Regions from separate parts of the Homo sapiens genome. Here region 1 is linked to region 2. Evidence: promoter capture Hi-C in 16 types of primary human blood cells and fetal thymus (Javierre and others, 2016). All regions are on one chromosome and are shown on one strand. The core of a region is centred on a gene start or on the middle of the fragment in contact, and the rest is flanking DNA. Distances in the headings are between cores, read along the strand shown. Region 1 overlaps SLC38A6 (solute carrier family 38 member 6). Region 2 holds the start of HIF1A (hypoxia inducible factor 1 subunit alpha).

Region 1 (3,977 bases), core at 730-3,229, 710 kb after region 2:
AGGTCAGAAACAGATGACAGCCATATGGGATGAGTCTGAGAAATGAAAGATAACCTAATATACTTGAAATGACTAACACAAATTGAGATAGATGGTATAATGTCATAATCCAAATGGTCTCAAGGCAAATAATGGTGACAATCCAGTGAGTAGTAGGGATCAACGACTAGGGAGTTGTGGTTCGGCCAGAGGTATGCAGAGTTCTAGGACTCTCACTCTCTCCAGTTGACAGTGACATGGAAGCCAGTGGAGGGGAGCTGTGGGTTTAGTATCAGAGCATGAGAAGTATTCCAAAAGAATGGCAACGAACCAACTATTTCTGAGATAGTAGTGTGTACAACACCCTGCAATCTTTAGGGATTTTTGCCCCAGTGGGCATTTTTGCCCCAGGGAGCACTCATTTGCCAAGGACTTGACATTTCATATACATTATTTTATTTCACTCTCAGAACAATTCCAAGAAGGAAGTGTTATCATTGCCATTTTACAGATGACAAACGAAGGCTAGAGAGAATAAGGTTCTTTACATTCCACCTCAGCTCCCATGAAAAGTCCTGATAGACCCCAAACGCTCCATAAAATCTAAAGTAGAATTTCATGTGAAGAAATCCTTTACTTTTATAAAGATGAAAATTTCTCTTTACCCTTTACCACCAGCAAATAAATGAAGAAGTTATTTCATAAAAACTCATGATAGCTCTTTCTCTTACCAATGAATTCAATCTGAGCATAATAATCCTTTATGACAGTCCAACAAACTGTTGGGAGAGAGTTAGTTACGTATTATACTCTAGTCTTTATATATGAATGTATGTATTGAAAAAAAAAAAAAAAAGGAAAAGCCTACCTCCACAGAGAATTTTACAAAGATTGAAGGAATTCAATCAACGGAAGACAGGTGAGTCAATGTGCAGGCAGAACCATGAAGTAGTTAGTTCATGGGCCCAAGTAGGCTACAGAAATCAAAGAAAAAGAAAAAAGAAGAGAAACAGATATATTCACTTCATACGCCCCAGAGTTACAGAAAAGAACAAACACAGTGTCAGAATCTTAAAGTTAAATACATGTGAACCGAAGGAGTAAAAAATTAAAATTACTTAGAAATCTCCACACACTGAATACTACTCCCACATAACCGAAATAAAACATTTTACTTAAATTAAAACTAAAATGAAGTTTTAAAATGAAGCTTGAAAGACATAATTGCCACATAGTTGACTAAAGTATTAATCTTTTAACAGAATGAATTGAAAGAATCTACCAAGATGTTAAAGTATCACAATTAAGTAAAATTTTTTTCACATTCAGCAAAATTTCAATACATGCAATTAAAATTCAAGTTTCAGCAGGATTTACAAATATATTTATCTAAAGCTATTATTCCTAAATTCAGGATGCTTTTATGAACAACCTGTTACTTTAGGATTAATATTTGTACTGCTTCCTAGTATTTTCATCTGTCTGCACATTCACCCAAGCCCCTTGAGAGCAAAGGCGTGCACTGGATGGCCAAAGCACTGTTAGAAGTTGTGGCTATAAACTATGAATCCTAAACTAGATTTGCATAAGAATCACTTGGAGGACTTGTTAAAAACATATCTGGCACTGGCTGGCCAAAGCACTGGTACAAGTTAGAGCTATAAACTATGGATCCTAAACTGGTTTTGCCTTGTTAAAAACATATTCTTGAGTCTCACCTCAGATTTTTGAAATTAGAATCCCTGAGGCTTAGAGCTCTCTGTGTATAAAAAGATCTATGAGTATTTCTGATGATGGACAGGTTTTAGGAAAACAAACTAGAGCAGTGGCTTCAGAATTATTCTGAAGAGTCTTAAAATTCTTAAGAAACATCACTGGGCTTCACTCACCTGTTTCAGCACAGAATAGTCTCACTGATATAGTTTGGTTTGTCAGACCCCTCCAAATCTCATGTTGAAATCAGATCCCCAGTGTTGGAGGTAGGGCCAAAGGGGAGGTGTTTGGGCCCTGGGGCCAGATCCCTCATGAATGGCTTGGTGCCTTCCTTGGGGTAATGAGTGAGTTTTCACTTTTATTAGTTTCATGAGAGCTGGTTGTTAAAAAGAACCTGGCATGCCCCTCCTCTCTCGCTTCCTCTCTTGCCATGTGATCTCTGCATATCCTAGCTCCCCTTCACCTTCCACAATGAATGAAAGCAGCCTGAGCCCCTTACTAGATGCAGATGGAGCAGAAAAGCCCCTCATAAGAAGGGCCATGCTTCTTGCAGAGCCTGTAGAACTATGAGCAAAATAAACCTCTTTTATTTATAAATTATGCAGCCTCAGGTATTCTTTTATAGAAACACTAAATGAATTAAGAAATCCATTTTTATCTATTTTGTGTATCTACTTTTCTTCTTAAAATCTGAACATCACAAGGCCAGATAAAGCAAAACGAACTCATCCATATAAGAATTAAACCCATGATTTTGGCATCAAAGCTGACCTAATCCAAAGACAAAAGAGACTAGACAGATAAAAAGACCAGGACTGATGAACATAGAATATTTGTTAATGACAAAAGGAAAATCTTAGAAAAGCACTTCTATAATTCATATACTTTTATTTACTGGATCCTAAAAGAACTTATTCAATACATGACTGAATTGCATAATAAAATTCCAAATGGGAAAAAGTATATACACAAATATATTGAATTAACTGCACATACTTATTTCTCTTAGGAAAAAACTACCCTATTCTAGACTTGCAATTAAAAATACAAAATGTGTCTAAATAAATTAAAGCTTTGTGACCTTACTTCCTACAATCCTAATTCTGCCATCCCTACCTCTGACTAGCAGGCAGATGGGGGCAGGGAAGGCAACAGTAGCTCTGAGAAGGTGTTCTCTCCTTGAGAAAATGATTTCTCCATAAGCATAAGGTTTGGATCCTTTGAACACCTTTTAGACCCTCCCATGATCTACTCTACTCCAGAAAATTAGGTTGTGTTGTGGAGGAAAGCAGGTAAAAATGCTAATTACCTCCTCCCATCCTGTGCTTGGATATTCCCCCACAGTATTGGGTCTGTATATCCTGGTTTTTCAAATTCTCCATTCCGATCACCCTATCTAATAAAAATGTATGCTCACTGGATATTAGATTTGAGACATCCAGTTCTATATGTAGATACAAACTCAAGAGACTCCTTTATTAAATGAAGCAGCATAACATTTTTACTCACCTGTCTGAATACACATACTAAGCAGAAGATGGACTGAGTAAGAAGCCAGGAGAGCAACTGTCAGCAGCAAGAAGCTAAAACATAAAAGAACACCTGGTCAAAACCTCCCAAAAGTTTGTCTTTTGTATGGTGTCTCATTACAAAAACAAATTGCTTAACAGTCAAATATTCACAGGAACTATCTCTGAGTAGCAGAATTATGTTCATTAAGGAAATTAAGAAGATACTTTTCTACTTTTTTGTATTTACCAATTTTATTTAAATGAAAATATACTGATTTTAAAATAAAAAAAAATAAAAACCAAACTTTTTTAAAAATACAAGCAAACTTCCTCATTTTGCAGTCTTGTCTGCTGACTGCTGAATCAGCCATTAAATAATCTTGTAATATTTCCTTTTTATGACTGGTTTTCTTCTTATTTTAAGTCTAAACAGAAGTTTTACTTATGCAATCTCATTGTCTTCTCTTTTTCCCTTCCTCCCTCTACTTCCAGTGATATTGACCTCCTTATCATACCTTCATCTTATTAAGGTGTACTTAAGATTTATTTAGGCTGTATTTTCTAGCATCTATTAAACGCACACACTCTCCAAACCAAACTAAATTAAAATAATGTAGTTAACACACCTCTAATGATGCAATTTGAAAAATGTGCAAACAATGTAATGATTGAGGTCCTCTCACCAACAGTGTGAAAGAAAAAACTTAGATAATTTCCTATTCATTTTTAGGAAGACACCAGCAGGACAAGCTTCTATACAGCTATCCCCAGTGA
Region 2 (3,995 bases), core at 265-2,764:
AAGTGATTTCCTTAAAAGTTAAAATGCCAAAGTGGGCAAAATTGTGTGTGTGTTGGGGGATGGGGGAGTCCGCTCTTAACACCACTGGTCCAACTCACAATTCTTAATCTCTAATGTACCCCTTAGACTCAAACTTCAAGGTGATTTATAAAACTTGCATTAAGTTCTAACCGAGTGATTACTTACTTTAGATATATGTTGACGGTTTTCCTTTAATATACTTCAATTTCAGGAAAATGAGACAGAGTTCGAAAATTTTTGCAACATTTTAGTGCCGCATTTCATTCACTCATCATATACTTTTTTCAGTATCATTAAAACTGCCTAAATTTAACCAGCCCCTACATTTTCATTATTTGAAGAATGAATGAGGCATATATTCATTTATAATATCTGCGTTCTCGTGACAGGTGATATGAACTCAAGTATCCAATTCTGAAGTTCTCTTTAAAATGTTGCCATTTCCCTAAATTCCCATTACTCTGACTCTCAGTCTAGGCAAGTTTTTCAAGGCGATTAAAACGAAACAAAACCTGCACGTGCAAACTAAAAAGTTCGCATCTTAAGGCCATCGCGGCAAATCCCTAATGCACAAAGGCAAAGACACCCGCGACGGCTGGACAACTACAGGACAAGATCGCATCCGACCACGCGAGTCCCTCAGTCGGGAACTCAAGGCCCCAAGTCCACTGGAAAGCCAGGACCAGCGTGCAGGGTCCGCCCCAGGGCCGAGTTTTCAATGGAACTGGAGAGGATGGGGGCGGGAAGGAGCGGAAGCTCCGGGTGCAAACCGCGGCTACCGAGCTGCAGCTCATTTCTCTTCCCGGGGTTTTCAGGCTGGGTAAAGTCCCCTCCGGATGGGGCCACAGAGCAGGCTGGGTTTTTGAGGCGGGTAGGTGGGCGGCGCGAGGCCCCCACGGCCGGCGGGGAGGGCAAGCAGGGCTCAGACCCCGGCCCCTGAAAGCACTTTCGAGGCGTCTCCCACCCCCCACGACAAGATGGCGACGTGGACAGCGGGGGAGCCCGGCCGGCGAGGTTGGGGGAAGAGAGGGGAGGGGAGCAGCAGCAGAAACAAAAAGGCTGCCCCCCCCAATCCCATTAACGCCGAGGCCGGCCCAGGAGCCCAGGGCGGGCAGGCGGGCGGGGTCGCCGGGGGAGAAGGCGGCGGGCCGAGGGAATGGGCTTACTTTTTCTTGTCGTTCGCGCCGCCGGCGCCCTCCATGGTGAATCGGTCCCCGCGATGTCTTCACGGCGGGCGGCCCCCAGGCTCGCTCCGGCCTAAGCGCTGGCTCCCTCCACACGCGGAGAAGAGAAGGAAAGGCAAGTCCAGAGGTGGGGGTGCGAGGCGGGAAACCCCTCGTGAGACTAGAGAGAAGCGGGCGGCAATCGCCGGGGTCCGGGCCCGGCTCCGAGCCTCTCCTCAGGTGGCTTGTCAGGGCCCAGCCCGACACACTGGCCGAAGCGACGAAGAGGGTGATCCTCCTGTCCCCTCAGACGAGGCAGCACTGTGCACTGAGGAGCTGAGGCAGCGTCAGGGGGCGGGCAAGGGCGGAGGCGCGCTCGGGCGCGCGGGGAGGGGAGAGGGGGCGGGAGCGCGCCCGCTCGCCTGCCCAGGCCGGCGCGCGCTCCCGCAAGCCCGCCTCACCTGAGGTGGAGGCGGGTTCCTCGAGATCCAATGGCGAGCGACGCAGGCGGCAAGTCCCCACCCCAGCCCACGCCGCTCTCAGCCAATCAGGAGGCGGTCAGCTGAGGCACAGCTGGGACGGGCTGCGACGCTCACGTGCTCGTCTGTGTTTAGCGGCGGAGGAAAGAGAAAGGAGATGGGGGTGCGGCTCAGCCCGAGTCTGGGGACTCTGCGCCTTCTCCGAAGGAAGGCGGTGCCCGGCTTTGGGAGGCGCTGCTGAGAAGGGATTTCGGTTGCCTGGTCCCAAACATGCATCATATTTTCCTACTCTTGGTGCAGTAATGTAATGCTCCTGCTCTCTTTCTCCTCGGCCTCAGTGCTGGGCACGATTGCCGCCCAACTCTGCTGGGCTCTCTGTTCAAAAAAGCAGACTTCGCCTCGTGGCAGCAAGCCCTTCCTTTGGTCTCGTTGCTCAGATGTGTTACAACGGGGTCTTTCCTTACCAGATTACCTAACCATGGGTCAATGTCACCCACCGCACTCTTTGCCACGGAGCACAGGGGAACTCACCTTGTCTACTAAGTTTTTCTGTGGCGGAGTTTACTTACTGAATAAATGCAATTAAAAATAAAAATGAACTCCTGTTGCTGTAAACTTCAAGGGAAATAAAGTTGCAGGGAAATCTTAAAATCTGAAACTATGTTAAGCATTTGCAAATAGGTATAAATGACTTTAATAAGCATATAAACCAATTTCAGGGAAAGAGTAGAAAAAATGGCCTTTGGCAACTTTGCAAGCTACTAAACAAAACATAATCACTTTTGTCTTTGGAGGCATAAACTTCAAGCCTGTCAGTCTTCTAAAAGAAAAATATGTTTTGAGCCCAACAAAGTAGCATTGCACATATATCTCCACTTGGCGCTAAATTATTTTACTTCTCACCTTTGCCTTATGAGTTTCTTGTTAAAACCTAGCTTTGGGTTGTAAATATAAATATCTGTAGTGGCTTTCAATTGTATTAGCATGTAAAAACAATGGTCTATATAGAAGCATCAAACTCTGACAAGACAACAACCAATGTATACAGCACCTCTTTTTAACTGGTCAGTAGACCTACAAAGATACGATTAAACATTGACCTTAGCGGACAGGGTGGTTCCAGCTACTCAGAGGTGTGAGGCTGGAGAAGCCTGGGTGTTCCAGCCTAGGGAACGTAGCGAGACTCCGTCTCTTTAGAAAATTTTTGATCTTCACGCTACTTTTGTTTTTTCAGATCTACAACACTAAATGATATGTATTATGTCTTGAAAAGAACCATGGGAAATGCCTGAAGAGAAGAAAGAACTAAAAATAATTACTCATAATTTCTTTTTTAATTGTGGAAAGAATACTGTAAATTAAAAACTTTTTAGTTTAACATTCTCAAGATACTGTGTTAAGAACACTGGCTCCAGAATCAAGCGTGAGCTTGTACACAGGCTTTGAATCTTACTGGCAAGTCGTTTAATCTCTCCATAACTCAGTTTACTTATTTATAAAATGGATATAAAAGTGTCTATACCACAGTATTATGGATGGTTAAATGAGATAATAAATGTATACTTAGAACAATATCTGGTGCATAGTAAGCACTCAGTAAATGTTAGCTCTTAGTATTGTTGGTGGCGTTATTATTATTATCATTATTATTATTCTGAGGCGGAGTCTCGCTCTGGCCCACAGGCTGGAGCGCAGTGGCGCGATTTCGGCTCACTGCAACTCCGCCTCCCAGGTACAAGTGATTCTCCTGCCTCAGCCTCCCAAGTAGCTGGGATTACAGGCACGCACCACCACACTCGGATAATTTTTCTATTTTTAGTAGAGACGAGGTTTCACCATGTTGGCCAGGCTGCTCTCGAACTCCTGACCTCAGGTGGTCCGCTCGCCTCGGGTTCCCAAAGTGCTGGGATTACAGGCATGAGCCACAGTGCCTGGCCTATCATCATTATTATTGCCCTCAAATTTATTCCTCTGTTAACAGTAATTACTCGGGCTTCTCCTACAGTTTAGCCATTTTTAACTATCCAAGAATACCAATTATGTTAATATAAATCCACATATATTCTCTATTTTCAACTTTGGAACTGCCCATCGTGTTCCCACCCTCATTTATGAGGATAGCTGCAGAGATCTTCCATCATTTCCCTTTTCATTATACTTATAGCAATTATCTCTGGCCAGTGATTATAGTATATAATGTTTGTGACATCAAAAGACAAGCATTTTGTAACAGTAAATCTAAGTCATTTAAAATTTTTTTGGATCATTTCAAAAGTTTAAAGCAGAATGATAATTTGATCAGCAAAAAAATTTTTGAATATTCATTAAATAT

The links. The method cuts DNA at HindIII sites, captures the fragments that hold promoters and counts their contacts. A CHiCAGO score of 5 or more calls a contact.
Region 1: a fragment that was not itself captured here is called in contact with the fragment with the promoter of HIF1A in region 2 in 1 of 17 cell types (monocytes); the score reaches 5.5 in monocytes.

What each region holds. Positions count from the first base shown.
Region 1 is chr14:60,984,028-60,988,004 of GRCh38, reverse strand. SLC38A6 (solute carrier family 38 member 6) reads right to left here. Exons shown (of 16, transcript NM_153811.3): 3 at 3,202-3,275. Among named protein-coding and RNA genes, the nearest start is that of SLC38A6, 4.8 kb to the right of the region's middle. The HindIII fragment of the contact is 1,575 bases long and covers 1,192-2,766 here.
Region 2 is chr14:61,693,032-61,697,026 of GRCh38, reverse strand. It overlaps HIF1A (hypoxia inducible factor 1 subunit alpha), which reads right to left and starts at 1,514. Exons shown (of 15, transcript NM_001530.4): 1 at 1,188-1,514. The coding sequence starts at 1,222. HIF1A-AS1 (HIF1A antisense RNA 1) reads left to right here and starts at 1,204. Exons shown (of 2, transcript NR_047116.1): 1 at 1,204-1,320. RefSeq lists silencers at 1,056-1,155, 1,456-1,755 and an enhancer at 1,826-2,195. The HindIII fragment of the contact is 8,611 bases long and covers 1-3,995 here.